Regions from separate parts of the Homo sapiens genome. Here all the other regions are linked to region 6. Evidence: promoter capture Hi-C in human tissues and cell types (Jung and others, 2019). All regions are on one chromosome and are shown on one strand. The core of a region is centred on a gene start or on the middle of the fragment in contact, and the rest is flanking DNA. Distances in the headings are between cores, read along the strand shown. Region 1 has its middle 39 kb from the start of PLAAT5. Region 2 holds the start of LOC124902684 (a long non-coding RNA gene). Region 3 overlaps RTN3 (reticulon 3). Region 4 overlaps PLAAT3 (phospholipase A and acyltransferase 3). Region 5 holds the start of ASRGL1 (asparaginase and isoaspartyl peptidase 1). Region 6 holds the start of CHRM1 (cholinergic receptor muscarinic 1).

What was found. Contacts are between HindIII fragments. The study calls those that stand out against the background at their distance.
Region 1: a fragment that was not itself captured here is called in contact with the fragment with the promoter of CHRM1 in region 6 in 2 of the 25 tissues and cell types used here (dorsolateral prefrontal cortex and mesenchymal stem cells).
Region 2: a fragment that was not itself captured here is called in contact with the fragment with the promoter of CHRM1 in region 6 in 1 of the 25 tissues and cell types used here (aorta).
Region 3: a fragment that was not itself captured here is called in contact with the fragment with the promoter of CHRM1 in region 6 in 1 of the 25 tissues and cell types used here (dorsolateral prefrontal cortex).
Region 4: a fragment that was not itself captured here is called in contact with the fragment with the promoter of CHRM1 in region 6 in 4 of the 25 tissues and cell types used here (bladder, dorsolateral prefrontal cortex, lymphoblastoid cells and 1 more).
Region 5: the fragment with the promoter of ASRGL1 here is called in contact with the fragment with the promoter of CHRM1 in region 6 in 1 of the 25 tissues and cell types used here (spleen).

The regions. Positions count from the first base shown.
Region 1 is chr11:63,450,220-63,454,143 of GRCh38, reverse strand. No RefSeq gene overlaps it. Among named protein-coding and RNA genes, the nearest start is that of PLAAT5, 39 kb to the left of the region's middle. RefSeq lists enhancers at 574-1,134, 1,135-1,696. The HindIII fragment of the contact is 7,919 bases long and covers 1-3,924 here.
Region 2 is chr11:63,494,631-63,498,538 of GRCh38, reverse strand. It overlaps LOC124902684 (a long non-coding RNA gene), which reads right to left and starts at 3,071. Exons shown (of 2, transcript XR_007062702.1): 1 at 2,930-3,071. The HindIII fragment of the contact is 7,313 bases long and covers 1-3,908 here.
Region 3 is chr11:63,730,289-63,734,729 of GRCh38, reverse strand. The region is part of intron 3 of RTN3 (reticulon 3); the gene reads right to left. Among named protein-coding and RNA genes, the nearest start is that of ZFTA, 36 kb to the left of the region's middle. The HindIII fragment of the contact is 5,544 bases long and covers 1-4,441 here.
Region 4 is chr11:63,593,546-63,598,032 of GRCh38, reverse strand. The region is part of intron 3 of PLAAT3 (phospholipase A and acyltransferase 3); the gene reads left to right. Among named protein-coding and RNA genes, the nearest start is that of PLAAT3, 19 kb to the left of the region's middle. The HindIII fragment of the contact is 6,558 bases long and covers 1-4,487 here.
Region 5 is chr11:62,335,906-62,340,344 of GRCh38, reverse strand. It overlaps ASRGL1 (asparaginase and isoaspartyl peptidase 1), which reads right to left and starts at 2,897. Exons shown (of 7, transcript NM_001083926.2): 1 at 2,771-2,897; 2 at 2,178-2,455. The coding sequence starts at 2,367. RefSeq lists an enhancer at 2,317-2,986. The HindIII fragment of the contact is 36,513 bases long and covers 1-4,439 here.
Region 6 is chr11:62,918,887-62,923,068 of GRCh38, reverse strand. CHRM1 (cholinergic receptor muscarinic 1) reads left to right here and starts at 1,706. Exons shown (of 2, transcript NM_000738.3): 1 at 1,706-1,851. It overlaps LOC105369333 (a long non-coding RNA gene), which reads right to left and starts at 2,909. Exons shown (of 5, transcript XR_002957251.2): 1 at 2,628-2,909. RefSeq lists an enhancer at 848-1,382. The HindIII fragment of the contact is 6,896 bases long and covers 1-4,182 here.

The sequences.
Region 1 (3,924 bases), core at 305-2,804, 530 kb before region 6:
TTATTTCACCTGAGTGCATGTGGGCTGAGTCTGAAAAGAGAGTCAGCAAAGGGAGATGGGGTGGGGCCATTTTATAAGATTTGGGTAGGTAAAGGAAAATTGCAGTCAAAGTAGGGGGGTTGTTCTCCGGCTGGCAGGGGTGGGGGTCACAAGGTGCTCAGTGGGGGAGCTTTTGAGCCAGGATGAGCCAGGAGAAGGAATTTCACAAGGTAATGTCATCAGTTAAGGCAGGAACAAGCCATTTTAACTTCTTTTGTGGTGGAATGTCATCAGTTAAGGCAGGAACCAGACATCTGGATATGTACTTGCAGGTCACAGGTGATATGATGGCTTAGCTTGGGCTCAGAGGCCTGACAGTTTTAAGTTCTTAAGAACACAGGCTAAGGGAGAAGGAGGAATGGAGGGTGGAAGCCTACCCATAGTGAAGGAGGCAAGCCCAGAGAAAAGAGAGAGTAGAGACACAGAGAGAAGGGGTGGGGGGTGCTTGCTCCCCAAGAAACATGGAGAGAAGTGGTCAGGGGGTTATTGTCCCCCAGAAAAGTGGAGAAGGGGTAGAGACATGGAGAGAAGGGGTTGGGGGTGTTCTTGCCCCCCATAAAAGTGGAGAAGGGGTAGAGAAATGGAGAGAAGGGGTCAGGGGTCAGACACCTCTGAAATGTGGGTGAATAATCAGGCAGGCATCCGCGTATGATTAAACACCAAGGGAAGACTGTCTTCCTGAGTCTGTGACCGGTGCTGGAGTTTTGGGTCCACGGATAAAATGCATCTCCTGTTTCTACAAGAAAAGGAAAGGAACTGAAATTAAGAGAAGGGAGAGATTGAAGTGTGGTGCCAAGATTGAAAGGAGAAAGAGGTTGAGGGATAGTGAGAGAGGTTGGAGAAGAGAGTAGAAAGAGGTCGCTTACTGGATTTAAAATTGGTGTGATGTTCCTTGGGCTGGTCAGTCGGAGGACCTGAGGTCATAGGTGGATCTTTCTCACGGATCAAAGAGCAGAAGGACAGGGGATTGATCTCACAAGGGAGGTCCCCTGGTCCAAGTCATGGCACCAAAATTTCACTCGCTTCTGTGTGAAGAGACCACCAAACAGGCTTTGTGTGAACAATGAGGCTGTTTATTTCACCTGGGTGCAGGCAGGCTGAGTCTGAAAAGAGAGTCAGCGAAGGGAGATAAGGGTGGGGCTGTTTTATAAGATTTGGGTAGGTAAAGGAAAATTAAAGTCAAAGGGGGGTTCTCTGGCAGACAGGAGTGGGGGTCACAAGGTGCTCAGTCAGGGAGCTTTTTGAGCCAGGATGAGCCAGAAGGAATTTCAGAAGCTAATGTCATCAGTTAAGGCAAGGACTGGCCATTTGCACTTCTTTTGCAGTTGAATGTCATCAGTTAAGGCAGGAACAGGCCATTTAAATATCACTTCTTTTGTGATTCTTCAGTTACTTCAGGCCATCTGGATGTATACATGTAGGTCACAGGGGATATGATGGCTTAGCTTAGTCTCAGAGGCCTGACATACAGGATATCACCACTGGTCCCACAGAAATACAAACTACCATCAGAGAATACTAGAAACACCTCTATGCAAATCAACTAGAAAATCTAGAAAAAATGGATAAATTCCTGGACATATACACCCTCCAAAGACGAAACCAGGAAGAAGTTGAATCCCTGAATAGATTGATAACAAGTTCTGAAATTGAGGCAGTAATTAATAGCCTATCAACCAAAAAAAGCCCAGGACCAGATGGATTCACAGTTGAATTCTAACAGAGGTACAAAGAGGAGCTGGTACCGTTCCTTCTGAAACTATTCTAAACAATAGAAAAAAAGTGATTCCTCCCTAACTCATTTTATGAGGCCAGCATCATCCTGATTCCAAAACCTGGCAGAGACACAACAAAAAAAGAACATTTCAGGCCAATATCCCTGATGAACTTTGATGCGAAAATCCTCAATAAAATACTGGCAAATCAAATCCAGCAGCACATCAAAAAGCTTATTCACCATGATCAAGTTGGCTTCATCCCTGGGATACAAGGCTGGTTCAAATACACAAATCAATAAATGTAATCCATCACATAAACAGAACCAATGACAAACACCACATGATTATCTCAATAGATGCAGAAAAGGCCTTCGATAAAATTCAACACCCCTTCATGCTAAAAACTCTCAATAAACTAGGTATTGATGGAACATATCTCAAAATAATAAGAGCTATTTATGACAAACCCACAGCCAATATCATACTGAATGGGCAAAAGCTGGAAGCATTCCCTTTGAAAACTGGCACAAGGCAAACACACCCCTTCTCACCACTCCTATTCAACATAGTATTGGGACTTCTGGCCAGGGAAATGAGGAAAGAGAAAGAAATAAAGGGTATTTAAACAGGAAGAGAGGAAGTCAAATTGTCTCTGTTTGCAGATGACATGATTGTATATTTAGAAAACCCCATTGTCTCAGTCCCAAAACTTCTTAAGCTGATAAACAACTTCAGCAAAGTCTCAGGATATAAAATCAATGTACAAAAATCACAAGCATTCCTATACACCAATAATAGATGAACAGAGAGGCAAATCATGAGTGAACTCCCATTCACAATTGCTACAAAGAAAATAAAATACCTAGGAATACAACTTATAAGGGATGTGAAGGACCTCTTCAAGGAGAACTACAAACCACTGCTCAATAAGAGAGGACACAAACAAATGGAAAAACATTCCCTGCTCATGGATAGGAAGAATCAATATCATGAAAATAGCCATATTGCCCAAAGTAATTTATAGATTCAATGCAATTCCCATCATGCTGCCATTGACTTTCTTCACAGAATTAGAAAGAAATACTTTAAATTTTATATGGAACCAAAAAAGAGGCTGCATAGCCAAGACAATCCTAAGCAAAAAGAACAAAGCTGAAGGCATCACACTACCTGACTTCAAGCTATAATACAAGGCTACAGTAACCAAAATAGCATGGTACTGGTATCAAAACAGATATATAGACCAATGGAACAGAACAGAGGCCTCAGAAATAACATCACACATCTACAAATATCTGATCTTCAGCAAACCTGACAAAAACAAGCAATGGGGAAAGGATTTCTTATTTAATAATTGGTGCTGGGAAAGCTGGCTAACCATATGCAAAAAACTGAAACTGGATCCCTTCCTTACACCTTATACAAAAATTAACTCAAGATGGATTAAAGACTTAAACATAAAACCTAAAACCATAAAAACCCTAGAAGAAAACCTAGGCAATACCATGCAGGACATAAGCATGGACAAAGACTTAATGACTACAACACAAAAAGCAATTGCAACAAAAACTAAAATTCTAAAATTGACAAATGGGATCTAATTAAACTAAGAGCTTCTGCACAGCAAAGGAAACTATCATCAGAGTGAACAGGCAACCTACAGAATGGGAGAAAATTTTTGCAATCTATCCATCTGACAAAGGGCTAATATTCTGAATCTACAAGGAACTTAAACACATCTACAAGAAAAAACAAACAACTCCATCGAAAAGTGGGTGAAGGATATGAACAGACACTTCACAAAAGAAGACATTTATGCGGCCAAAAAACATATGAAGTAAAGCTCATCATCACTGGTCTTTAGATAAATGAAAATCAAAACCACAGTGAGATACCATCTCACGTCAGTTAGAATGGTGGTCACTAAAAAGTCTGGGAACAACAGATGCTGGTGAGGATGTGGAGAAATAGGAAAGCTTTTACACTGTTTGTGGGAGTGTAAATTAGTTTGACCACTGTGGAAGACAGTGTGGCAATTCCTCAAGGATCTAGAACCAGAAATACCATTTGACCCAGCAATCCCATTACTGAGTATATACCCAAAAGGTTATAAATCATTCTACTATAAGGACACATGCACATGTATGTTTATTGCAGCATTATTCAC
Region 2 (3,908 bases), core at 245-2,744, 580 kb before region 6:
CCCCCTAGCAGTGGCCATGCACCATAGAGAAGAGAATCTGTGCACTCTGGGGAGGGAGAGCATGGTGACTGAAGGATTTTACATGGAACTCAGTGCTGCTCTGTCACAGCAGAGAATAAAGCCATGCTGGGCTCAGCCAGCGCTCAGGCATGGAGGGAGCATTTGAACCAGCCCTAGCCAGTGGTCAGAACTTGAGTTTCTTGGCAAGCCTAGCCACCACAGGGTGAAGTGCTCTGGGGTCCTAGGTAAACTTGAAAGGCAGTCTAGGACACAAGAACTGCAATTCCTAGGCAACTTCTAGTGCCAGGTTGGGTATACAGCCAATCAATTAGGGTGGCATGTGACCTAGGGAGATACCAGCTGGCATGGCTAGTATCATACTGAGTGGGGAAAATCTGAAAGCCTCTCCTCTAAGATTTGGGACATGACAAGGATGCCTACTGTCACCACTGTTATTCAACATAGAACTGGAAGTTCTCGTTAGAACAATTAGACAAGAGAAGGAAATAAAGGGCATCCAGACTGGAATGGAAGAAGTAAAATTATCCTTGTTTGTAGATTATATGATCTTATATTTGGAAAAACCTAAAGAGTCCACCGAAAAACTATTAGAACTGATAAACCAACTCAGTAATGTTGCAGGATACAAAATCAACATGCAAAGATCAGTAGTATTTCTATGTGTCAACAGTGAACAATCTGAAAAAGAAGTTTAAAAAGTAATCCCATTTACAATATCCACAAATAAAATCCAAGACCTAGGAATTAACCAAAGAAGTGAAATATCTCTACAATGAAACTGTGAAACAATGATGAAAGAAGTTGAAGAGGACACACAAAAAATGGAAAGATATTTCATGTTCATGGATTGGAAGAATCAATATTGTTAAAATGTCCATACTACCCAAAGCAATCTACAGATTCAGTGCAATCTCTATCAAAATACCAATGTAATTCTTCACAGAAATTGAAAAAAAAATCCTAAAATTTGTGTGGAATCACAAGAGTAGCCAAAGCTATCCTGAGTAAAAGGAACAAAACTGGAGGAATCACATTATTTGACTACCAATTATACTACAGAGTTACAGTAATCAAAACAGCATGCTACTGCCATAAAAAGACAGATAGACCAATGGAACAGAATACAGAACTCAGAAACAAATCCATACACCCACAGTGAACTCATTTTTGACAAAGGTGCCAAGCACATATATTGGATGAAAAGACAATCTCTTCAATAAATGGTGTTGTGAGAATTGGATATCCACATGCAGAAGAATGAAACTTGATTCCTATCTCTTGCCATATATAAAAATCAAATCAAGTGGATTAACAACTTCAATCTAAGACCTCAAACCATGAAACTACTTCAAGAAAACATTGGGGTAACTTTCACGTTGGTCTTGGCAAAAGTTTCTTGAGGAATACCTCACAAGCATAGAAAACCAAAGCAAAAATGGACAAATGGGATCACACCAAGTTAAAATCTTCTGAACAGCAAAGGAAACAATCAACAAAGTGTCAAGCCAACCCACAGAATGGGAGAAAACATATACAAACTACCTATCTGATAAGGGATGAATAACCAGAATATATAACAAGCTCAAATAACTCTATAGGAAAAAAATCTAATAATTTGATTTTAAAAAAGGCAAATGATCTGAATAGACATTTTCTCAAAAGAAGGCATACAAATGGCAAACAGGCAAATGAAAAAGTGCTCAACATCACTGATCATCGGATAAATGCACATCAAAATTACAATGATATATCAATTAAATGGCTTGTATCCAAAAGACAGGCAATAACAAATGCTGGAGGATGTGGACAAAAGGGAACTGCTGTGCAATGTTGGTGGGGATGTAAATTAGTACAACCACTATAGAGAATAGTTTGGCGGTTCCTAAAAACTAAAAATAGAGCCGTCATATGATCCAGCAATCCCACTGCTAGGTATATGCCCAAAAGAAAGGAAGTCAGTATATCAGAGAGATATCTGCATGCCCATGTTTACTGCAGCACTGTTCACAATAGCCAAGATTCGGAAGCAAAGTGTCTCAGCAGATGAATGGATAAAGAAACTGTGGTACATATACACAAGGGAGTAATATTCAGCCACGAGAAAGAATGAGATTCTCTCATTGGCAACAACATGGATGGAACTGGAGGTCATTATGCTAAGTGAAATAAGCCGGGCACAGAGAGACAAACATCACATGTTCTCGTTTATTGGTGGGATTTAAAAAATCAAAACAATTAAACTCATGGAGATACAGAGTAGAAGGATGTTTACCAGATGCTGGGAAGGGTAGTGGGGAGGTGGGAGGGAGGGGGAATTGTTAATGGGTACAAAAAAATAGAATGAATAAGACCTAGTATTGATATCACAACAGGGAGACTATAGTCAATAATTTAATTATACATTTAAAAATAAAAGAATATAATTGGATTGTTTGTAACACAATGGATAAATCCTTGAAGGGATGAATATCCCCCCCAATCCCCCCACAAAAAAAGATGCCATGGGTATAATCCAGAGGGTGGCAGGCTATGTGGGTTCTCAGTCTGGAGCCTGCCTAGCAAGCAGCTTCGAAATCATTACTAAGCTTAAGGGGGCAGTGGGACACGACTGCTTCTCATTCCAGTGTCTCTTTGGGTCTGATAATTTAAAGGAGGCTTGCATTTCTCAAACAGAATACTTCTTTTCTTTCTTACTTTCATATGTATGTGAAAATGTCCATAGTAAAAAGTAGAAATTCAAAACAAAAGCCATAATTAATGTTAAGCTTTTGATTCCATATCCTACTAATGGCAGGTGAGATGCATGGCTAAGGGCCTGGATGTGGGGAGCACGGTTTGCTCCTTTGGGCACCCTCCCTCCCACTGCAGTACCCTGGAATAGAAGGATGACAGGGGCTACTATGTCTACCTCAAAGACACCACCTCTTCCTCCCTTTGCAGTTGGGAGCATGGAGAAGGGACAGAGGTGATAGATTCTAGTGTGCCGTGGGACAGTCCATGGACTCCCTCCAGCTCTGCGTAGTTCTCTTGTGCTGGGGGCCTTTGTGTATGTGGTCTCCATAGAGACAGTGTGCAGGCAAAGTTCTTTCATTCCAACACTCTCTGCCACTGAGGACTCTCACCCCCCACCGCCAGAGAGGCACCTGGGTCTCCCTTTGGGCGTGTCAAAAGAAAGACAAATTAAATTGAACATAGTTTAAATGAGCAAATAATTTATGAATCAGGCAACCTGTCGAATCACAGGAGATTCAGAGACACTCCAGTGATACTGCATTGTCGAAGATGATTTATGGTCAGAAAAAGGAAAGTGATATACAGAAACAAGTGAGGTACAGCAACAGCTGGACGGGTTACAGCTTGGCATTTGCCTTATTTGAACATGATTTGAACAGTTGGCTAAAACTCGGTGGCTGGCACAAGAGTAGGTTATAGTCTGTTTACACATCCAGTTAAGTTACATTTCACTATGTACAGAGAAACCTTTAGGCTGAACTTAAAATACGTAAGGAGGCAGCTTTAGGCTAAGCTTAATTTAACAGGCCTTTCCAGAATTAGAAGTCCTTCTGCTTCTCCATCTCAGCTCCTCCACATGGTGTCACAGGAAGCACTGAGGTCCTCATCTCAGCACCGTGAGAACCAGCAGTTAATCACCAATAGAACTTCACTATAGGACCTTCAAGGCCCATCTGTATTTTGGGAAGAAAGGTGACCTCAGACAGAAGGTTTGTGATGCAAGAAGGAATGATGAGCAAAGGTGGTGGCAAACATATAGGCAAATCTAAAAGAATGTCTGCCTAATATAATAATGGTAATAATAATGTGAATTGGGGATTAAAAAGGGGCAGACTAAAATAGCATGGGTAGGAAAGATTAGAGTGAAAGTGTTC
Region 3 (4,441 bases), core at 1,448-3,947, 810 kb before region 6:
GACAGAGTCTCCCTCTATCACCCAGGCTGGAGTGCAGTAGCGTGAACTCGGCTCATTGCAACCTCCGCCTCCTGGGTTTAAGCAATTCTCCTGCCTCAGCCTCCTGAGTAGCTGGGATTACAGGTGTGTGCCACCATGCCTGGCTAATTTTTCTATTTTTAGTAGAGGTTTCACCATGTTGGCCAGGCTGGTCTCAAACTCCTGACCTCAAGTGATCCGCTCACCTCGGCCTCCCAAAGTACTGGGATTACAGGCATGAGCCACTGTGCCTGGCTATTTTTGTTTGAGACAGTCTTGATTTGTTACCCATGCTGGAGTGCAGTGGTGTGATCTCGGCTCACTGCAACCTTTGCCTGTTGAGTTCAAGGGATTCTCCTGCCTCAGCCTCCTGAGTACTGGGATTACAAGTGTGCACCACCACACCTGGCTAATTTTTGTATTTTTAGTAGAGATGGGGGTTTCACCATGTTGGTGAGGCAGATCTCAAACTCTGACCTCAAATGAACTGCCCACCTCGGCCTCCCAAAGTGACCTCCAGTATGTTGTATACAAATGGTGAGAGTGAACATTGTACCCAATCTTCAGGAGAAAGTGTTCAGCATTTCAGTATTAAGGATGACATCAGCTGTAGTTTTCAACAGATGCTGTTTATTAGACTGAGGGAATTACCTTCTATTCCTTGTTTGTAGAAAATTCTATCAGAAAAGGATATCGAACTTTTTTTATTTAAAAATTTTAGAAACAGGATCTCACTGAATGTGTGTGTGTATATATATATGTGTGTCTGTGTGTATATACATATATACATACGTATGTATGTGGTGTTTTTTTTTCTTTTTGAGGCAAGGTCTTGTTCTGTCACCCAGGCTGGAGTGCAGTTGTACAATCATGGCTCACTCCAGCCTCGACTTCCTGGGCCCAAGCAATCCTCCTGCCTCAGCCTCCCGAGTAGCTGGGACTACAGACACACACCACCACCGCCACCACGCCCAGCTAATTTTTCTTTTCCTTTTTTTTTTGTTGGTAGAGACAGGGTCTCACTTTGTTGTCCAGGCTGGTCTTGAACTCCTAGGCTCAAGCAAGTCTCCCACCTCAGCCTCCCAGAGTGTTGAGATTACAGGAATGAGCCACTGCACTCAGCCAAACATTTTCAAACACTTTTTATGAACTGAACTTATGCCATAGTTTTTCTTCATTGTTAATGTGGTGAATTATATTGATTATCCAATCTTTTTTTTTTTTATTCTGAGACAGTCTCTGTCGCCCAGGCTGGAGTGCAGTGGTGCAATCTTGGCTTACTGCAACCTCCACCTCCTGAGTTCAAGCGATTCTCCTGCCTCAGCCTCCCAAGTAGCTGGGACTACAGGCGCGTGCCACCACGCCCGGGTAATTTTTTGTGTTTTTAGTAGAGACGGGGTTTCACCGTGTAAGCCAGGATGGTCTCGATCTCCTGACCTCATGATGTGCCTGCCTCGGTCCTCCCTCCTGACCTCATGATGTGCCTGCCTCGGTCCTCCCAAAGTGCTGGGATTACAGGCGTGAGCCACTGTGCCCAGCCTTTTTTTTTTTGTATTTTTAGTAGAGATAGGGTTTCACCATGTTGGCCAGGCTGGTTTTGAACTCTTGACCTCAAGTGATCCACCTGCCTCGGCCTCCCAAAGTGCTAGGATTATAGGCGTGAGCCACTGAGCCCAGCCCTGATTATTTAATCTTAAAACAACCTTGTATCCTGTATATCCTGTAACAAACCCTAATTAGCCTTGATGCATTCATTATCTTATTATGTTGCTGGTATGATCTGCTAATATCTTCTGAAGGATTTTTCATTTACGTTCATGAATAATATTAGTCTATAATTGTATTTGCCATGTCTTTGTCCAGTTTTGGTATTACTCTATACATATGTATTATATATGACATATATACTAGTTTATAAATTGGGAAGTATTCTCCTCTCCTTTTTCCTTATATGCTTCGAAGAATTCTCCAGTGAAAACTCTGGGCCTGGAATTTTCTTTGTGGAAAGAGTTTTGATACTGAATTTAATTTCTTTAATATAAATTGTGTTAGCATTAAGTAGCATTTTTCAAGGATTTTGTCCATTTCTCTAAGTTGATAAATCTGTTGGCATAAAATTGTTCATAATAATCTACTGTTCTTTTAATATCTGTAGGATCTGAATGGAAAACCCTTTTTTCATGCTTGATATTGGTAATCTGTGCTTTTTTTTTTTTCTTGTCCAGTCAAGAAATAATTTTGGCCAAAAGTGGCTCACACCTATAACCTCAGCGCTTTAGGAGGCCAAGGTGGGAGGATCACTTGAGGCCAGGAGTTCGAGACCAGCCCGAGCAACATGAGACCCCATTTCTACAAAAAATTTTTAAAAATTAATAAAGTATGATAGTGCGTGCCTGTAGTCCCTAGATGCCTGCCTGTAGTCCTAGCTACTTGGCTGAGGCAGGAGGATCGCTGAAGCCCAGGAGTTTGAGATTACAATGAACTATGATCATGCTACTGCACTTCAGTCTGGGTGACTGAGCAAGACCCTGTTTCCAAAAAAATAAAAAATAATTTTGTTGAACTTTCCAGGAACCAAATTTTGGCTTTGTTAATTTTTTCTATTGTTTGTTTTTTTATTCCATTGATTTCAGCTCTTTTTTTTTCTTTCTACTTACTGGGTTTACTTTGCTCTTCTTTTTCTAGATTTTCAAGTTCGAACCTTAGATCACTGTTTTAGATTTTTGTCTTTTCCAATATAAGCATTTAAAGCTATATACATGGCTGGGCGCAGTGGCTCAAGCCTGTAATCCCAGCACTTTGGGAGGCCAACGTGGACGGATCACAAGGTCAAGAGATCGAGACCATCCTGGCCAACATGATGAAACCCCATCTCTATTAAAAGTACAAAAATTAGCTGGGTGTAGTGGCGCACGCCTGTAATCCCAGCTACTCAGGAGGCTGAGGCAGGAGAATCGTTTGAACCCGGGAGGCAGAGGTTGCAGTGAGCCGGGATTGTGCCACTGCACTCCAGCCTGGTGACAGAGCGAGAGTTCATCTCAAAAAAATAAAAAATAAAAAATAAATAAAGCTATATAATTTCCCTCTCAGCACTGTATTCCACAAGTTTGATTTATTTTCATTGTTCAGTTTAAGTGATTCAGTTTAAATCACTTAATATTTTTCTTGTGATTTCTTCTTTTATCTATAGATTAGGTAAAACTGTCTTAATTTCCAAATATTTGGGAATTTTCCTAGATGTTGTCTTCATCATAGATATCTTCATTAATTTAAAGCTTAAATTCATTATGGCCTTAGAACATATTTTGTATGATTTAAATCCTTTGAAATTTGGCCAGGCACAGTGGCTCACATCTATAATCCCAGTACTTTGGGAGGCCAAGGTGGGCAGATCACTTGAGGTTGGGAGTTCGAGACCAACCTGGCAAACATGGTGAAACCCTGTCTCTACTTAAAATACAAAAATTAGTGGGCGTGGTGGTACGCGCCTGTGATCACAGCTACTCGGGAGGTTGAGGCACAATAATCATTTGAACCCGGGAGGCAGAGGTTGCAGTGAGCTGAGATCACACCACTGCACTCCAGCCTGGGAGGCAGAGTGAAACTGTGTCTCCAATAAATAAATAAAAAAAAAAATCCTTTGAAATTTGCTGAGTTGTTTTGTGGGCCTAGTAGTATATTATCGATACCAATGAATGCATACCTTATACACTTGTAAAATAATGTGTATTCTGCTATTGTAGGGAGTAGTGTTCTATAACCACCATCTAAGTCAAATTCATTGATTGTACTGTTCAGATACCTGGGTGTGTCTAGTTAATTGCTGAGAAAGAGGTATTAAATTTTCCAATTATTACAGATTGCCAATATATCTCCTTAATTCTGCCTTTTTGGGAGACAGGGTCTCACTCTGTCACCAGGCTGGAGTGCAGTGGTGTGATCATGGTTCACTGCAGCCTCCACCTCCTGGGCTCAAGCAATCCTCCGCCTCAGCCTCCTGAGTAGCTGGGACTACAGATGCATGCCACCAAACCAGTTAATTTTTGAATTTTTGTAGAGATGGGGGTCTCTACAAAAAAACTCCAGGGTAGGGTTATGTTGGGTTAAGGGTTATGTTGCCCAGGCTGGTCTCAAACTAGTCTCAAGTGATCTTCTCACCTTGGCCTCCCAAAATGTTGGGGTTACAGGCATGGGCCATTGCCCAGCCAATTCTGTCAATTTTTGCTTTGTGTATTTTGAAGCCATTATTAGGCACATACACACTTATAACTGTCAAGACTTCCTGGTATCTTTTATCATGATAAGATGTCCCTTATTTATTTCTGATAAAAGCTTTCATCTTCTTATGCTTACTGTTTGCATGGCATACATTTATAAATTTTTTGGGATATCTTTTCCATCCATTTACTTTCAACCTGTGTCT
Region 4 (4,487 bases), core at 1,215-3,714, 670 kb before region 6:
TGGGCCCCAGGGGCTGGGAAGAGAGGGGATGGGGAACTGTGGGTAACAGGTGACCCCAACATTCTTCTTGCTTCCCAACTGGCAGTTGTCTCTGAATGTTACAAGAAGTTTGATATGGGGCAGTTTGGTGTGGGGCACTGGTTTTCAAGGTCTGCTCCTGGGAACCTCAGGGGGTTCTTTAGAGCAGGGGTCCCCAACCTCCAGGCCATGGACTGGTACTGGGTAGGAACTGGGCTCCAGAGCAGGAGGTGAGTGGTGGGCAAGTGAGCGAAACTTCATCTGTATTTGCAGCTGCTCCCCATCGCTTGTATTACCGCCTGAGCTCCACCTCCTGTCAGATCAGCAGCGGCATTAGATTCTCATAGGAGCATGAACCCTACTGTGAACTGCACACGCAAGGGATCTAGGTTGCACACTCCTTGTATTAGTCTGTTTTCACACTGCTATAAAGAACTACCCGAGACTGGGTAATTTATAAAGAAAAGAGTTTTGTTTTTTGTTTTTTTTGAGACAGAGTCTTGCTCTGTCACTCAGGCTGGAGTGCAGTGGCGCAATCTCGGCTTACTGCAAGCTCCGCCTCCTGGGTTTACGCCATTCTCCTGCCTCAGCCTCCTGAGTAGCTGGGACTACTCAGGTGCCTGCCACCACACCTGGCTAATTTTTTGTATTTTTAGTAGAGACGGGGTTTCACCGTGTTAGCCAGGATGGTCTCGATCTCCTGACCTCGTGATCCACCTGCCTCAGCCTCCCAAAATGCTGGGATTGCAGGCGTGAGCCACCGCGCCCGGCCCTTCAGAAAGAGGTTTAATTGACTCACAGTTCTGCATGGCTGGGGACGCCTCAGGAAACTTACCATCATGGCAGAAGGTGAAGGGGAAGCAAGGCAGGTCTTATATGGTGGCAGGAGGCGGGGGAGTGCCACACTTTTTTTTTTTTTAGATGGAGTTTCGCTTTTCTTGCCCAGGGTAGAGTGCCATGGCACAATCTCGGCTCACTGGAAACTCCACCTCCCAGGTTCAAGTGATTCTCCTATTTCAGCCTCCCGAGTAGCTGGGATTACAGGCACCTGCCACCACGCCCGACTAATTTTTCTATTTTTAGTAGAGATGGATTTTCATCATATTGGTCAGGCTGGTCTTGAACTCTGGACCTCGGGAGATCCACCTGCCTCAGCCTCCCAAAGTGCTGGGATTACAGACATGAGCCACCATGTCCGGAGTGCCACACTTCTAAACCATCAGATCTTGTGAGAACTCACTCATTATCATGAGAACAGCATGAGGGAAATCTCGCTCATGATTCAGTCACCTCCCATATAGTCCCTCCCCTGACACATGGGGATTACAGTTTGACATGAGATTTGGGTGGGGATACAGAGCCAAACCATATCACTCCTTATGAGAATCTAATGCCTGATGATCTGTCACTGTCACCCGTCACCCCAGAAGGGACCATCTAGTTGCAGGAAAACAAGCTCAGGGCTCCTACTGATTCTGCATTATCGTCAGTTGTATGATTATTTCATTATATATTACAATGTAATAATAATAGAAATAAAGTACACAATAAATGTCATGTGCTTGAATCATCCCGAAACCATCCCTCCCCACTGCCGAGTCCATGGAAAAATTGTCTTCCACAAAACCAGTCCCTGGTGCTAAAAAGGTTGGGGACCGCTGCTGTAGAGGGACCAAGGTGGCATCTGAGGACGAAGCTCTGTTTTGATGTGTTTTTTATGCCGTGACTTTGTATGCAACACACTCAACTCTTTTTTTTTTTTTTTTTTTTTTTTTTTGACAGAGTCTCGCTCTGTCGCCCAGGCTGGAGTGTAGTGGCGCGATCTCGGCTCACTGCAAGCTCTGCCTCCGGGTTCACGCCGTTCTCCTGCCTCAGGCTCCTGAGTAGCTGGGACTACAGGCACCTGGCACCACCCCTGGCTAATTTTTTGTATTTTTAGTAGAGACGGGGTTTCACTGTGTTAGCCAGGATGGTCTCGATCTCCTGACCTCGTGATCCGCCTTCCTTGGCCTCCCACAGTGCTGGGATTACAGGCGTGAGCCACTGTGCCCGGCCGCAACACACTCAACTCTTAAGCGTAAAGCTCCTGGGAAGAGTGCAGGTGTTTGGGCAGAGAGACTTGGTTATGAATCCAGTTTCCATTCTTCAGCCTTGATTTCCTTTTTTGCAAACTGAGGATATGAATACTTAACTTGGAGAACTCTTGTGAGAATTCCTCACCCTTCTCTTAAGCCTTTAACTTAAACTGGGGTATAACATAAGTATTGTAAAATGTACAAGCATAGTAAAGTATACAGTCAGTGAATTAAAAAAAACCATCCATGTAACAGTGCCCCAGATCCACATCTAGAACATTCCCACTGTGCCACTTACCCTGAAAGGCTCTCTCATGCTTCTACAATATGCCTCCCCACGCCTCGCCCAGGCAACCATCATTCTAGCTTTTCCTGCCATAGATGAGTTTTGCCTGTTCTAGAACTTCATGGAAGAGGTATCACACGGCCCGTGCTCTTTTGTGTCTGGCTTCTTTTAGCCAACATCATGCCCATGTGAGTCATCCATGCTGCTGTGAGTAGCAGGAATTCTTTTTCACTGCTGTGTATTTTCTGTTATATGAATATGCTACAATTTAGCATCCATTTTTCTGACATCAGACTCATTGCAGGTTTTGACTGCTATGAATAGAGCTGTTATAGACACTCTTTTTTTTTTTTTTTTTTTTCCGAGACGGAGTCTTGCTCTGTGGCCCAGGCTGGAGTGCAGGGGCATGATCTTGGCTCACTGCAACCTCCACCTCCTGCTTTTAAGCGAGTCTCCTGCCTCAGCCTCTGGAGTAGCTGGGATTACAGGCACGCACCACCATGCCCAGCTAATTTTTGTATTTTTAGTAGAGATGGGATTTCACCATGTTGGCCAGGCTGGTCTCAAACCCCTGACCTCAAGTGATCTGCCTGCCTCGGCCTCCCAAAGTGCTGAGATTACAGGCGTGAGCCACCGCGCACGGCCCTTGAACATGTCTTTTGCATATCGTTTTAATTCTAACTAGTGGCCTCACCCTATCAGTAGTAACCAGAGTAGATGTCATCTTCCCCACCCTGAGCCCCTTACCCATGTACCCCCACCCCCTCCTCTTCCTTTCATAAGCACTTTGCTCCTCAAATTCCCCACCTCCTTCTGTATTGTCATCTTCTCCCTTTCAACTGGATCATTCGTATTGACATAGAGACAGCTGTAATATATCCCGTTGATCAAACGCCCGGCCTCACATCCTTCTCTGCTTAACGCCCTACAGAGCAGATCTCATTACAGCTTTGTCTGCCTGGCCACCTCCGGTTCCTCGCTTCCCATTCTGCCTTCCATCCCCTATACCCACACTTTCTTTTTTCTTTTTCTTTTTTTCTTTTTTTTGAGATGGAGTTTTGCTCTCAGACTCTCTTTTTTTGCCCCCCTGACAGAGCAGTTCTCAAGGGTAGGGAAAAGCTTCCACATCTTGCCAAAGCTTAAAGCCAAGTCCCATCACAGCTGACTTGGCTTCTCTGCAGCATTTGATGTGAGTGACCTTCCTGCTCTCCACCTGGCACCTGACTTTCTTCCTCTCCCTCTGGGCCCTTCTTTTTTGGTCTCTTGTGTGGGCTCCTCCTCCTCTCTCATTTCCCTAAATCGAGCTCAGATGACCTCATTGGATTCCTTAGCTTCCAATACCTTCTATTTGTCAATATCTCCTAAGCCCAAACCCTCAATTTACATCCCCCTTCAGCTTCAGACTTGCATAACCTCTTGACTACTTGGTAACTCCACTTGGGTGTCTACCTGGCATCTTGAACTTGATCTGCCCCAAATGGGAGGCTCCAGTGGAAGACACCATTCAGCTGCTCAGGCCTAAAGCCTAGGAGTCATTCTCCGTTCCTTCCAACCCATGTCTAATCTATCAGGGAATCCTGTTGGCTTTATCTCTGAAACAGACCCCAGCTCTGACCACTTCTTACCATCCCCACTGCAGCGCCCTGGTATGAGCAACCACCCTCCCTCGCCTGGTGGCAGTGTCACTTCTGGCTGGTCTCTCTGCCTCTTGCCACTCACGGCCAGTTCCTCATTCATGGGCAGGTGGTGTGATTGTTTGAAAGCGTAAATCAAGGGCCAGGTGCGGTGGCTCATGCCTGTAATCCCAGTATTTTGGGAGGCTGAGGTGGGTGAATCACCTGAGATCAGGAGTTTGAGACCAGCCTGGCCAACATGGCGAAACCCCGTCTCTATTAAAAATACAAAAATTAGTCGGGCATGGTGACGCGCCACTGTAGTCCTATCTACTTGGAGGCTGAGGCACGAGCAGGAGGCGGAGGCTGAGGCACGAGCAGGAGGCGGAGGCTGCAGTGAACCAAGATTGCACCACTGCACTCCAGCCTGGGTGACAGAGTGAAACCCCGTCTCAAAAAAACAAACCAAAACCAAACCAAAACAAAGCATCAAAG
Region 5 (4,439 bases), core at 1,648-4,147, 580 kb after region 6:
GGCTCTACAAATGGAGCCATGAAAGCACACTATTAGGTCTCATTTTAAATTCAGATGAACTTAATTTTATTTTCAGAGACAGAGTCTCACTCTGTCACCCAGGCTGGAGTGCAGTGGCGCAGTCTTGGCTCATTGCAGCCTTGACCTCCTGGGGCTCAAGGAATCTTCCTACCTCAGCTTCCTGAGTAGCGGCGGCTACAGGCTTGTGCCACCACGCTCAGCTGATTTTTGTATTTTTTTTTTTTTGTAGAGATGGGGTTTTGCCATGTTGCCTAGCCTGGCATTGAACTCCTGAGCTCAAGTGATCCGCCCACCTCAGCTTTCCAAAGTGCTGGGATTACAGGCGTGAGCCACTGCACCGGTCTCAGGAAGAATTACACAATTTTTCACAAGTGTTAAAGAGTGCTGCGTAAAGGGGACAGAACAAGAGTAAATATTTGATGATTAATTAAGATTTCCTGAAATTCTTTTCCCTGACAGATGGGTGGTATAATTCCAGGAAGTATTTCAATCTCTAGCCTAGATCTTAGGTTTGCCATTTTAAAACAAAGAGATGAATGTCTTCCACCAAGTTAATCTGTTTATGCCTTAGTCTGATCTGAGAAATGAGGATAATAATTATGCCTAACTTATACCTAACTCATTTAACTCAACTGAGTTTAAGTGATTAACTCATAAGTGAATCATTTAATGTTCATTATGAGTTAACTTGAGTTAGTTTAACACAAGTTAACCAACTTAAGAGAGTTACATGATCAACTCATTTAATGTTCAGATTCAATAAATCAAGCAAATTTCTTAGACCACTGCCTGATACATGGTAGATACTCATATTAGCTATAATGATTAGTATTCCAAAAAAGGGTGGACTGAGTGAAAGAAGCGAAACACAAAGGAATACACTCTGCACTCCAAAGTTAACCTGAAAACTTTGGAACCTTGTCGGGGGAGGTAGGACATGCCTCATTATTCCCTCCTCCCTTTTGGAATTCAGGCCCAGCTGACCAGCACTAACATTAAAACAGATCTTAAGACTGACAAAGCAGACTTTGTAGCAATAAGATACCAAATTCCAGCGGGACTCTAGTATGACATCACATGACAGATAGCAAGCCCTGAAAGTGAAGTATTTTACCCCAAATTACGTTTCTTCGCCATATCTTGAAATAGTCCTGCAAAGCTAAAGCTATCTCTTGTGGGGAAAATCTACATTCTGAAGAGAATCCCCTTCCTTTTCTAGGCCTTTTTCCTGATTCAGGAGAGAATCAACTCTGATAAGAAACATTTACAATTTATTCTCTCAATAGACTGCTACCTGGAGACTTCCTCTGCCTAAGGGAAATCTTGGTCTCCTCAACCTCTTATCTTAATGCAGACATTCCCTTCTTTTTTCAGTTTTTTTTTTTTTTTTTGAGATAGTCTCGCTCTGTCGCCCAGGCTGGAGTGATCTCGGCTCACTGCAACCTCTGCCTCTCAGGTTCAAGCTATTCTCCTGCCTCGGCCTCCCGAGTAGCTGGGGTTACAGGCTCCTAGCACCACGCCTGGCTTTTTTTTTTTTTCTTTTGTATTTTTAGTAGAGGTGGCTTTTCACCTGTTAGCCAGGCTGGTCTCGAACTCCTGACCTCAGGTGATCCACCCGCCTTGGCCTCCCAAAGTGCTGGGATTACAGGCGTGAGCCACCGTGCTAAACCGCCTTCTATTAATTCTATCTGCAGCCACAAGTCCTTATATAATCCAGACATTCCCTTCTGTGGATTCCAGGTGTTTGGACAAAACTTTAAATCAATTGTTCATCAGAAAATCTTTGAATCTTAACTATGACCTGGAAACCACTCCCCCTCCCCCAGTAGTCTCACCTCTCCAGATGGAACCAATGTATGTCTTGTATGTACTGATTGACATCTTATGTCTCTCCAGAAGCACACATTCTCAGGATTTCCCAAGAGCTGTATCAGAGGCCATTGGTCACTCATATTTGCCTCAGTATAAATCTCTACAAATATTTTAGCGTTTGACTCTTTTCAGCACAGGTAGAAAAATTAAATATTGTTTCTTTTTTACATACTTAGTTTCACCCCAAAGCTCATTAGATTCCCTAACACTATGTAGGTTCTATTTATTCTGAAGAAGGAGCTTGACCTGACTCACATTATTTACTAGCTGAAAGGCACATTTACCTGCGTTGAACTCGGGATCGTCTTCCAGGGCGACGACAGCTCCCTCTACGGCATCCACGGCGCTCCCGCCCTCCCGGAGGATGCCGTAGCCCACGGTGGCGGCTCTGACCATGCCCTGGTGCACTCGCTCCTTCCGATCCTTGGAGATGGGACCGGCTCCGCCGCCGTGGACCACTACGATGGGATTCATGTCGGCGGATCCTAGGCAGCAGGAAGGCGAAAGCGTCGTCCAAAGCCAGCCCAAGGAAGCCGCGCGGGTACAAGGTCCTCGGGAGACCCTGTGGGGACAATGCCCAGTCTCTGTTCTGAACGGCTGGGTTCGCAGCTGGGGGTGGGTAGGGGCGGCTCGGTCGAGCTTGGTACGAAAAGCCCAGGGGCCCGGCGCCCTCCCGCGTTCCTCTCCGCCCCCGGCCCGGACCTGCTGGGGGTCTCAGTTTCCCCGGGGACGTTAACCCGCGCCCACCGCCGCCCGCCTCCAAGCCCCGGCGCCGAAGGAGGATGTCTATTTCGCCTTCGGGAAAATGTCTATTTTCGTTTATTTCATTCGCCCTCCCGCGTCTCGGGCGGCTGCTCCGGGAGGGCCGCCGACTTACCCAGGGCACCGCAGGACGCGGACGCCGAGACCTCAAGCTGGGTCGAGCCAGCCCCGCAGCCGCCCGGTACCGCCGCTCCCCGACGCCGGCTCGAAACCGCTCAGCCCGCAACCGCTCTGGTCACAACGGTTCTGCGCCTGCGCACGAGGGCGGGACCGCCGCACGGCCCAGTTCCCATAAAGCCCCGAAGGCCGGCTGGCGCGCACCTGTCTCACTCCTCTCAAGAGTCTACGCTCTTGGCCGGCCCGAGCTTCCTGGTGGCACGCGGGGAACCTCCTGCTCCTGACCAGGCTAGGGGCTGGGTGGTTGGGTTGGTGGCGAGAAGCGTGAAGTGGCATGCCACGATTTTGTAATTGCAGATTGAAAAGCAACGCTAGGCTGTGCGCAGTGGCTCATGCCTTGTAATCCCAGCACTTTGAGAGGCCGAGGCGGACGGATCACCTGAGGTCGGGAGTTCGAGACCAGCCTGACCAACACGGAGAAACCCTGTCCCTACTAAAAACACAAAATTAGCTGGGCGTGGTGGCGCATGCCTGTAATCCCAGCTACTCTGGAGGCTAAGGCACGAGAATCGTTTGAACCTGGGAGGCGGAGGTTGCGGTGAGTGGAAATCGCGCCATTGCACTCCAGCCTGGGCAACAAGAGTGAAACTCCGAATCAAAAGAAAAAAAAATTATACTGGGACAATGGGCATAAACAGGGACAGATCCAGGCAAACTGTGATTGATCTCCTGTGGATAGGAGAGTCCTTTCCCTTCTTGTTTACCCACAACTGATAACATATTTTACCACTCTTGGGAATTCCCTTTACTCCTGTTTTACCTTCGTTTCCTGCCTTAAGGCCCAGTTTAAATGAACCCCTCCTGCAAAGCCTTCTCCCTGGCACCCCACTAAGGATCAGTCATTCCCTTTCTAGTGACCTATTGTTAGAGATTACCACAAATTTATTGGCTTCAAACAACACACATTATCTTACAGTTCTGGTGGTCAGAAATTCAAACTGGGTCTGCAGGGTTGAGTTCCTTCGGGAAGCTCCAGAAGAGAATCTGTCTTTTCTTGCTTCTACAAGCTGCCTGTATCCTTGGCTCATGGCCTCATCCTCCATTGCCAAAGCCAACAGCCTAGCATCTTTAACTCTCTCTCCCTCTGGCCTGTTTCTGCTGCTACGTCACTTCTCTCTCTGTCACCATCATCACGATTTTCTTTTCTGACTCTGACTCTCCTGCCTCCTTCTTAAAGGAAGTCCCTTGGGATGACATTGGGCCCACCCAGATAACCCAGGATAATCTCCCTTTCTTACAATTTCTATTCTCATCTGCAAAGTCCCTTTTGCCATGTGAGGAGTGTTCACAGGTGGAGATTCGGATGTGACACCTTTGAGGGCCGTTATTCTGTCTCCCACACTCACCTCTTGGAAGAGGGTTATTTTAGCACGTCTCAACTGGTCGTGAGCCTAGTTGTGTCATCATAATACAGCTCACCATCATTTGGTTTCAGCTATTTATAGGAACCTGAACCCTACCCTATGCCTAGCCCTAACTCAAACCCCATCTCTACTGTTTTTCCTGATTGATCTGGAATTCAGTGATCTGGCTGAGGCTGGGGAAGGTGGCTGGTGGCCCAAGCAGGTAGAATGTTGGTTTCCATTTGATCCTCCCATCTCAGCCTC
Region 6 (4,182 bases), core at 457-2,956:
GCAGGGAGGAGGACTGGGTGCCTGCTGGAACCCCAGCTGGCTTTGAGAAGCACAGATGCCCCCACATGTACCTGCCACGTGTGCCCACCAGTAGCTGCTGACCAAACCCCAGGAACTCCAGTTTCAGCTCCACTTGGCTCCATTGGCCAACTGGGCTCCTGGGTGAGAAAGCCCCAGGTTACCCTCAGGCACCAGCATTGGCGGGGTTGTGGGGGCGGGGGGCGGCGCTTGGTGGGGAAATGAGTAGGGGAAACCCCTGCCCCAGACTCCAGAGCCCTGGGCTTAGAGCCAAGTGACCTGAGCCCAAACACCTGCCCACCACATGCTAATCATACCTCTGCTCTTCAGATTTCTCACCTACAAAATGGGGATAATTGATGCTCCCATTCCTTCCCACCTCTCACCCCAAGACTTCGACACAGCCCAGTGGGCAAAGAACACAGCAGCCCCAGAAGGCAGTCCCTGCAGCCTCCAACTCTCCTCCCCAGTCAGCTCCCGGGGAGGTCTCTAGGGCCAAACAGAGGCGGTGCAGGACCCACATCTCTAGGGCAAACGGCCCCCCAGGGGTTCTATCTCTGAGGAAGCTCAACACAGAAGTCCAGACCAGCCTGGCAGGGAGGGATGCTGGCCTCACCCAGTAGGGCTGAGGGAGATTGGGAGGAGGGCTCATCTCCTCCCAGGTACACACCTGTGAGCCCTGAGTGGGAGTCAGGGGAGACAGAGCTTGACAAGCTGGGAGGAGAGCTGTCTGTCTGCCTGTCTGTCTTCCAAGTGGAAGCTTGGGGTGGAGCAGGCAGGTAGAGGCTGCCTCACTTGTCAGAATTAGCAAGTTCCACAGTTGGGCAACACTCAGCCACACATCAGATACAGACACACGTGTGCACACGCGTCCTGCCTCCAGACTGATAGGGTCACACCTGCACTTACACAGGCTGCATGGTGACATGAGTACACAGGGACACACATATGCAAGGCACTCAGCCGCACATGGGGCAGGCACCTGGCCCTCTACTCATCCCCGAAAAGCAGACACCCATATACCCTCACAACAGGCTATGCATAGCCCAATGCTAGCGCACACAGCCCAGCATGCGGGCACGTTCACTCAGCCCCCGGGCGGGTGCGCCAGCCCTCTGGGTCTGTTCCAAGTTGGAGCCTCTCACGTGAGGCCCAATGTGTCATTTCCAAACAGAAGGAATCTAGCTCTCTCACAGCAGGGAGGAAGAGCAGGGTGTGTAGTTGGGTGGGTGGGTGCGTGGGCATGTGCAGGGGGGAGGGCGTGTGTGCGAGGGAAGCAGGCATGTGAATACCAGGGCATGTGTGTTGGGGCATGGTGCACAGGGGCTGGGGGCTCTAAGGTTGGGTGGGGGGAGGAGCCCAAGGAAACAGTGTGCCTTTGTGAGGGTGTGTGTGCCGCCGGGTCTGTGCAGTGGGTGTGGGTGTTTGTCTCCCTGTATCCGCCTTCTCTCCCGTCCGGGACTTTTAGCCTTCCTGGGCTCGCCTTCCTCATGTCCTTTCTCCTCCCTCTTGGGGCTCAAATTGGGTGCCCTGGTGAAGGAGGGGGGCACACTCCAGAACCTAGTCCAACCCCAGACGCTGCCTGAGGCTTCCCTCCAGCTCCCCTCCCTTCCTTTTCTCCCTTTCCTCCCTCCCTCTCTTTCCCTTTCTCCCTCCCCGCTAAGGCTGGCGTGCCAGGGGGTGGGACATGCCAATCACTGGCTGTGCCTCTCCCGCTGCCAGCACAGGGCGCAGCTCCCCCTGGGAGCCAGGTGTTTGGGTCCCTGGAGACGCCGCAGGCCCCCAGGGAGGCAGTGGGGCTGAGGACCCTACAGACCCCTCTTCAGCCCCGTGGTGAGTACATTTGGGAGGGCTTGGGAGGGGCTGCACTAAGGTAGAGGGTAGGAGGGTCCTGGGGAGCGGGGGAGGGCAGGGATCAGGATGAGATGGAAATAGGGATGGACTCACAGAGATAGGAGGAGGCCAGGGAGGGGTCTAGAGGGCAAGGGGGCTCTGTAGCATTGAACACTGACTGCTCCAAACACTCGGCCTCCTGGCTTTGAGTGGATATAGCTGATGTTTTTCTGGGCTTCTGCTGGCAGAGGAGATGGAGATCCCCCTCAGGAAACTGGACCTGAGGCCCAGAAGGGATTAGGCTGCCTGGTAGCAAGCAGAACCCCCAACACCCTAGGGGCAGAGTGGGAAGGGCAAAGGGCCAGGAAGCAGCCCTTGCCACCAGCATCCTGTGGGAGGTTGACCCCCATCTTGATGGGGGTGCCAGTCCCAGAACCTCCTGTCCTCCCTCAGGGCACCCTGAAACCCACCACCCCCGTCCACCTCAGCTCCCCCAAGATGGACTGAATCAGGCTGCTGGCCAGATAGAGAAGCTAGAAGCCAAGGTGGGTGTCAGGCCAGAAGCCAGCAGGAGACCAGGCAAAGAGCCCCAGGGCTCTTTGGGGACAAATGGGCATGTGGGTGGCCACACTAGCCAGGGAAGGTGGCCCTGACGTGCGCAGGGGCCCAGAGGACCCTCCTTATGTTTCTAGTATCTTGGGCTCCCGCAGGGTGGGTCTCAGTCCTATATCCAGGCAATGCATGGATACCAATGGGCACCCACGCCAGGTACTCACCCCAGTGCCCGCAGACTGCACAACATGGGGATGGGCTAGGGGCCAGGAACTCTGATGCTTGTAGAGTTGTCAGCTCCTGGGCAGGCCAGCTGGGGAGGGGGTCGTCAGCTCTCATTAGGTCATCCAGACATGTGCAGCTTAGAGGTTATCAGAGCCAATGGAGAGGGGTTCACATCTTTGCACAAAACACACCTGCAGCTCCACCCAGACTGACCCAAGACCCCTGCCCAACTGGCTGGAAGGAGTCAGGCAGTCTCCAGTAGCCAGACAGTCTCCTTTCTCAGGGTAATCAGCTGTTCAGTGGGCTGTCAGATGAGAGTTCTCTGCCCTCTGACCTCAGCCACCAGGCAAGCTGCAGTCGCTATCGCGGCTGAGATATGAAAGGGAAGGAGATAGTGAAATGGGCTGCAGAAGATGTGGGTCTTGGCTCGCAGCTGACAGCTGGCGGTTGGAGTTCTGAGAACTGGATTCTGAAGTGTAATGGGGAGTCCAAAGTGTCAAGAAGGGGCTAACCAGAGGTCATGTCAGACCTAGAAAGGAGGCTTTCTATTGTATGGAGGGACTGAGGCTGAGAAAGGGAAAGGGACATGCTCATGGTCGGAGAAGGGATATGTAGGGATCCAGCTGGGGCTCGGACCCCTTCTCCGCATCCTCAGCACAACACTGCGCTGCCGCCTCCATGAGCAGGAAGATGGGGTGGGAGAGCAGGGGGCGCAGTAAGCTCTGAGACGCAGAAGCTTGGGCTCCCAGCAGGCGGGGAGAGGTGGGTGAATTGCGCTGGGTTTCTGCTCTGCTGTGGTGCCATGGTGATGCCTACAAGGATGGAGGAGGGAGGGAGAGAGAAGAAAGGAAATGAGGAGGAGAGTGCAAGGAGCCAGGAGCAGGGGGCTTGCGGAGAGGAGGATGAGGGACCCAGAACCTCTGATGCCACACTGGCAGAGTGAGGTCTAGGGTCCAGCTGCTCATGCCCAGGCTCTGTCATGGTCTGGCCAAAGTCAGGCAACTGCTTAAGATCCATCATGGGTGAGCAAATTTGGCAGTGATTCTAGGGCTGATGCTTCTCTTCCAGCTAAGCAGTGTGTTTCATGTAGCATTTAACTGATGGCTGCTGCCCTCCACAAGACTAGTTGGCCCTCCCAATGGCAACTGTTGAGCCTTAAAAATGTGATAAATTCTGTTTACTCCCTCATTCTCAAAGCCAGACATCAGGGGTGGAAGTTTTGTGCACCTTAATGGGTCAAGAGCTGCTGTCAAAGAAAAGTTAACCCCGAGGGGAGAGCTGCCTCGTATGGGCTGGCTTCTGGGGTCAGGCCCTAGCAGAAGGGATCAGTGAGTAGACCTGGCCAGAAGGAGCGCCCTCCTCATTGCATATGTGAGGCCTCAGGTGCCCAACCCCACAGCCCCCTCCACATACCTCCCACTCCCCAATGTTATCCCCTCTTCCTAACCAGGACTCTACCAGCTTCCAGGCCCAGAATCACAAGATGGCTCCGCTCCTCCCTCCTAAATATCTTCCCCAGCATCCCCTCATTCCCTCCCTCCCCTTCTGTACTCT